Regions from separate parts of the Homo sapiens genome. Here region 1 is linked to region 2. The links are contacts of gene promoters, found by promoter capture Hi-C in human tissues and cell types (Jung and others, 2019). All regions are on one chromosome and are shown on one strand. The core of a region is centred on a gene start or on the middle of the fragment in contact, and the rest is flanking DNA. Distances in the headings are between cores, read along the strand shown. Region 1 overlaps LOC105369310 (a long non-coding RNA gene). Region 2 holds the start of APLNR (apelin receptor).

Region 1 (3,093 bases), core at 2-2,501, 300 kb after region 2:
TGTCAAATCAAGTCTCTTTCTCTACTATTTTCCTCAGTTAACTCTTCGGGGAGTATGCTCAAGTTGGTATCTTTTGTCCTTATTTTCCTTTTAAGATCCTCAGGGATCTAGAACTAGAAATACCATTTGACCCAGCCATCCCATTACTGGGTATATACTCAAAGGACTATAAATCATGCTGCTATAAAGACACATGCACACGTATGTTTATTGTGGCACTATTCACAATAGCAAAGACTTGGAACCAACCCAAATGTCCAACAATGATAGACTGGATTAAGAAATTGTGGCACATATACACCATGGTATACTATGCAGCCATAAAAAATGATTAGTTCATGTCCTTTATAGGGACATGGATGAAATTGGAAATCATCGTTCTCAGTAAACTATCGCAAGGACAAAAAACCAAACACCGCATGTTCTCACTCATAGGTGGGAATTGAACAATGAGAACACATGGACACAGGAAGGGGAACATCACACTCTGGGGACTGTTGTGGGGTGGGGGGAGTGGGGAGGGATAGCATTAGGAGATATATCTAATGCTAAATGAAGAGTTAATGGGTGCAGCACACCAGCATGGCACATGTATACATATGTAACTAACCTGCACATTGTGCACATGTACCCTAAAACCTAAAGTATAAAAAAAAAAAATCCAGAAGGACATTTTTTCCAATTATCTGCTAGACATCTTCATTTAGGTTTTCTTTTCATACCATAAACTCAAGGTGCTTAAAAGCAGCCCTTCGCTTTTGCTTCACATTCTAGTTTTCTTCATCCTCTACTTTGCTGCCACCTACAATCCAAACTTTGGGGTGTCTTTGGGTTCCCCTGAATGTTTAATTACTTACCATATTCTATGGATCCAGTATCCACAATGTGTCTCTGTGTATTCCCTTACATTGCATATTTTTATTATCAGCCAAACTCATTATCTCTCACCCAGGTTTCACAATAGGAACTTCATTGATCTCTCCACCTCCACGCTATTCACTCTTCCAGTCTTTCCTTTGTGTGGTTTTAAGTTAGGTTTTTCCAGAGCTCAATTCCAATTAAACTACTCCTTAGCTCACAGGCCTTTGCACTTGCCTCTCATGATCTTGCCCATCAGGATCTCATGTCAGGTTTCTTTGCATTCTTCTCTATGGACCCATCTGGTCTACTAAACCAAGCACAAACTTTTCAGCTAGAATTTTAGATTTTTTTTCCCAATACGAGCTCAGTTTAACTTTCTAGGCTTATCTATCATTGCTCTAATTAACTAACAAACTAATCATTACTAAAATATTTATTGAACATCCACTCTATGTCTCTATGCCAAACAGTGGACCCCAGTCCATTGTTAGGATAAAATGCTAAGGATTTGATTGCTAGGGATACATTGCTAGGGATGAAATGGTGAATAACAGCATACAGAATCACTGCTCTCATGGAGTTTTCAGTCTTGTGAGTGGCACAGGCAGAGATCATTTGTATCAGTGAGGTGCACAGGGCACAAAAGCTTATAAAGGGAATATTAACCTGGTAATTTAAATCTGGGATGAGTGTCCAGAGAAAACTATGCTTATATAAGTAATAGGAAATTATTTCGAATGCTGTCAAAAAGCCAAGGCCAACCATACTTATGGAGGAATGAAATTTAAGTGATAGTGAGGAAACCACCTTGCAAACAGTTCTACAGTCACATAGGCCTCCTACTCTGCTGTCCGAACAGAAATTTGCTCCTGCCTCAGGGCCTTTGCACTTGCCTTTGATGATTCTGCTTCTCAGGATGTCATGGCAGGCTCCTTCAATATTCTCAGATTCCCTTCTGCCTGACCCCCTGAACTAATCTAGTCCCCTGCTTATCATTCTCTCTCACCTCATCCTATTTATTTTCTTTAAATGTAATCATCTTGTTTTTTCTTCCATTTACTTGTTTATTGACTGCCTTCTGCACTAGAATATAAACTCCTAGAGGTAGGGCTTCTGACTCTTCATTCACATCACCTAGGTCAATGCCTGATAAATGGTAAGTGCTCAATTAATGTTGCAAATGAAAGAGAATAATAAAGATATATATGAAGGATCATGAAGTTATATATATATATCTCATATATCTCTCTGTTATATCTATATATCTATATATATTTTTATATATAGACATCTATTTTTCTATTTATATATCTCTAGATAGATACATAGATATTTCTCTCTAGATATGTCTCTGATATGAGAGATAAGTATATATGAGAATATATATAGATATCTACATATATCTATATATGATAGCTCTCTATATATGAGAAGGTCTATTCTGTGGGGAGTTAATAATTGATTTTTCAGAAATGATAACTACATTATGTTTTCTTAGAGATGCGGCTGCTACACAATTTTTGCCACTTTGTTTTTCAACTTCTATTTTAGATTCTGGGGTACATGTACAGTTTGTTATAAAGATATATTGCGTGATTCTGTGGTTGCTGGGTGGAATATTCCGTAGATGGTTATGAGGTCCAGTTGGTCAAGTGTCAAGCTTAAGTCTAGAATTTTCCTGTTAGTGTTCTGAATTTGTATCAATTCTTTATTGAAGAGGAAAAAGATACTTTGTTGTCTAAATTATTTGATGTTTAGTTTTAAAAGTACCCTCAGGAAATTTACTTGAAGTGCATAAAAATAAAGTGGATTAATGGATATATTGAGAGATGGGTAGATGAATAGACACGGGATGGAGGAAATTTACTGAAATAGTAATGTTGAAATCAAGTGATGGCCATATAGATATTCACTATAAAATTATTTCAACATTGCTGTATTTTCAAACTTTCATAAACAGTTCTGGGAAAGAAAATATAACTGAGTATATCCCTGCCTTCAATAGAGCTCAAGTTTAATTTCCTATGCATTCTGCACTTTTAGGATTGTGCCAGAAGTGTCTCTGACTAGCAAGAAAGCAGATAAAACCTTCCTTTATTTACACTGACTAGGCAACAAATATTATATTATATGCCATTGGTAAGATTTCCAACAATAAGAATTTTGCACTCACATGGTTAATCAGAAGTTTGGATAACTAGAATCTTGGCTTCCTGCTACCTGCCCCACAGC
Region 2 (3,076 bases), core at 577-3,076:
ATATGATTTTCTGATCCACTCTCCCTCCAGAAAATGGATTCCAGCTTTTGTAGTAACTTAAGACAAATATATATCGTGAGACAGGGTCTTGGCTGTGTTATTCAGGCTAGTCTTGAACTCCTGGGCTCAAGCAGTCTTCCTGCCTTGGCCTCCCAAAGTGCTGGGATTATAGGCATGAGCCACCTTGCCTGGCCAATTCCAGCTTTTGTAAGTCTTTTGCCTTGGAAGTGGCTAAGGCTCAGCTCCTGCTTTTGTTCCATCTCACTATTACCCAACGTCAGGTGGCTTCCCCAACTCTTCAAGGTTGTGGAAAGGGTGCGTATTTTTTAAAAAAAATCTTACGTCGTGCATCTTCCTTCCTTCCTAGAGGTCCTGGAGAGGTGATGAGCTGGGGCAAAGTGAGCGTCTACGGAACTTTCCCCACAGTATCCTCCAGTGACTGAGTCTTTCTCTAGAGACCCCCCTCCTCTAGCTCAACTTCCTGACCCCCTGTGGTCTTACAGAAACCTCTTGGTCCATGGAGGATAGTAAAAACCTGAGAACTGAAATGTATCCATGTTCTCACCACGTAGTAATTCTTACACTTGTTCTTCCATCTATGGATTCCCCTTTTCACTCACCTCCTACATCATCCATCCACTTACTCACTCAACAGCCATTCACCTGGCTGGGCGTGGTGGCTCATGCCTGTAATTTCAGCACTTTGGGAGGCCGAGGTGGGTGGATCATCTGAGGTCAGGAGTTTGAGACTAGCCTGGTCAATCCCCATCTCTACTAAAAATACAAAAAAATTAGCCTGCAATCCCAGCTACTAGGGAGGCTGAGGCGGGAGAATCGCTTGAACCCAGGAGGCAGAAGTTGCAGTGAGCCTAGACCAGCCTGGGCAACAAGAGTGAAACTCTGTCTCAACAAACAAACAAACAAACAAAACAGCCATTCACCTACGACATGCCAGGTACTGTATTATGTTCGTGTTTGGAGAAGAAGAAAAGCAAACAATCAACTGTAGCATAATTCACTTTATTACCTTGGGCAAAACATTGACCTTGTTGGGCCTTTGTTTCCTACAGATTTAATGACTTGTTTAGAGATAATTTTGTCCTGGGTTTCTTCCATCCTGTGACTGCCCTCAACCTTCTAAAGCATCCTGTGCCTTCCGCAAACTGCAAACTGCAGTCTACACTAGTGTAGGGGTATTTCTCTAGAAACCACAAAAGTTCTCAGAGGGAGGGTCAAAGCCAAGGGGTAGAGAAAGATGAAGCGAGAGGCAAAGTGGGAGAAGACCCTCCTGTGACACCTGGTCTGGGTGGGGGCTGGGGGTGCAGGAAGGGAGCCGAGGGGGCCAGACCTGCCTGCCAGGAGGACCTGCCAGATGCCCTGCCCATCCTGCGAAATCTTACACCCTCCTTGCTCCCTACCAGCCCTGGCTCCAGCTCAAGCTGGATTGCAATCTGCATAATGTGTCCCATTTAGATTGGATGGAAGGGGGTGAGAACAGGAGGGCGGAGAGCACTGAGGAGGGAGTGCCCTAAAGGGCAGGCAGGAAGTGGTGGCCAGAGGAAAGTGGAGGGATAGGGGCTGGGGTGAAGGTGGGTGGCAGCCAGAAAGGAGAGGCGGGGCCAGGAAAGCCGACTTGCAAAACCACAGATAATGTTCAGCCCAGCACAGTAGGGGTCAATTTGGTCCACTTGCTCAGTGACAAAAAGAAAAAAAAAGTGGGCTGTCACTAAAGATTTTGACTCACAAGAGAGGGGCTGGTCTGGAGGTGGGAGGAGGGAGTGACGAGTCAAGGAGGAGACAGGGACGCAGGAGGGTGCAAGGAAGTGTCTTAACTGAGACGGGGGTAAGGCAAGAGAGGGTGGAGGAAATTCTGCAGGAGACAGGCTTCCTCCAGGGTCTGGAGAACCCAGAGGCAGCTCCTCCTGAGTGCTGGGAAGGACTCTGGGCATCTTCAGCCCTTCTTACTCTCTGAGGCTCAAGCCAGAAATTCAGGCTGCTTGCAGAGTGGGTGACAGAGCCACGGAGCTGGTGTCCCTGGGACCCTCTGCCCGTCTTCTCTCCACTCCCCAGCATGGAGGAAGGTGGTGATTTTGACAACTACTATGGGGCAGACAACCAGTCTGAGTGTGAGTACACAGACTGGAAATCCTCGGGGGCCCTCATCCCTGCCATCTACATGTTGGTCTTCCTCCTGGGCACCACGGGCAACGGTCTGGTGCTCTGGACCGTGTTTCGGAGCAGCCGGGAGAAGAGGCGCTCAGCTGATATCTTCATTGCTAGCCTGGCGGTGGCTGACCTGACCTTCGTGGTGACGCTGCCCCTGTGGGCTACCTACACGTACCGGGACTATGACTGGCCCTTTGGGACCTTCTTCTGCAAGCTCAGCAGCTACCTCATCTTCGTCAACATGTACGCCAGCGTCTTCTGCCTCACCGGCCTCAGCTTCGACCGCTACCTGGCCATCGTGAGGCCAGTGGCCAATGCTCGGCTGAGGCTGCGGGTCAGCGGGGCCGTGGCCACGGCAGTTCTTTGGGTGCTGGCCGCCCTCCTGGCCATGCCTGTCATGGTGTTACGCACCACCGGGGACTTGGAGAACACCACTAAGGTGCAGTGCTACATGGACTACTCCATGGTGGCCACTGTGAGCTCAGAGTGGGCCTGGGAGGTGGGCCTTGGGGTCTCGTCCACCACCGTGGGCTTTGTGGTGCCCTTCACCATCATGCTGACCTGTTACTTCTTCATCGCCCAAACCATCGCTGGCCACTTCCGCAAGGAACGCATCGAGGGCCTGCGGAAGCGGCGCCGGCTGCTCAGCATCATCGTGGTGCTGGTGGTGACCTTTGCCCTGTGCTGGATGCCCTACCACCTGGTGAAGACGCTGTACATGCTGGGCAGCCTGCTGCACTGGCCCTGTGACTTTGACCTCTTCCTCATGAACATCTTCCCCTACTGCACCTGCATCAGCTACGTCAACAGCTGCCTCAACCCCTTCCTCTATGCCTTTTTCGACCCCCGCTTCCGCCAGGCCTGCACCTCCATGCTCTGCTGTGGCCAGAGCAGGTGCGCAGGCACCTCC

What was found. The method cuts DNA at HindIII sites, captures the fragments that hold promoters and counts their contacts. A contact is called where the count stands out against the background at its distance.
Region 1: a fragment that was not itself captured here is called in contact with the fragment with the promoter of APLNR in region 2 in 1 of the 25 tissues and cell types used here (H1 embryonic stem cells).

Annotation. Positions count from the first base shown.
Region 1 is chr11:56,933,132-56,936,224 of GRCh38, reverse strand. All of the region lies in intron 1 of LOC105369310 (a long non-coding RNA gene), which reads left to right. Among named protein-coding and RNA genes, the nearest start is that of OR5AK2, 54 kb to the left of the region's middle. RefSeq lists an enhancer at 2,503-3,093. The HindIII fragment of the contact is 3,677 bases long and covers 1-3,089 here.
Region 2 is chr11:57,236,000-57,239,075 of GRCh38, reverse strand. It overlaps APLNR (apelin receptor), which reads left to right and starts at 1,826. Exons shown (of 1, transcript NM_005161.6): 1 at 1,826-3,076. The coding sequence starts at 2,072. RefSeq lists an enhancer at 1,552-2,184. The HindIII fragment of the contact is 13,017 bases long and covers 1-3,076 here.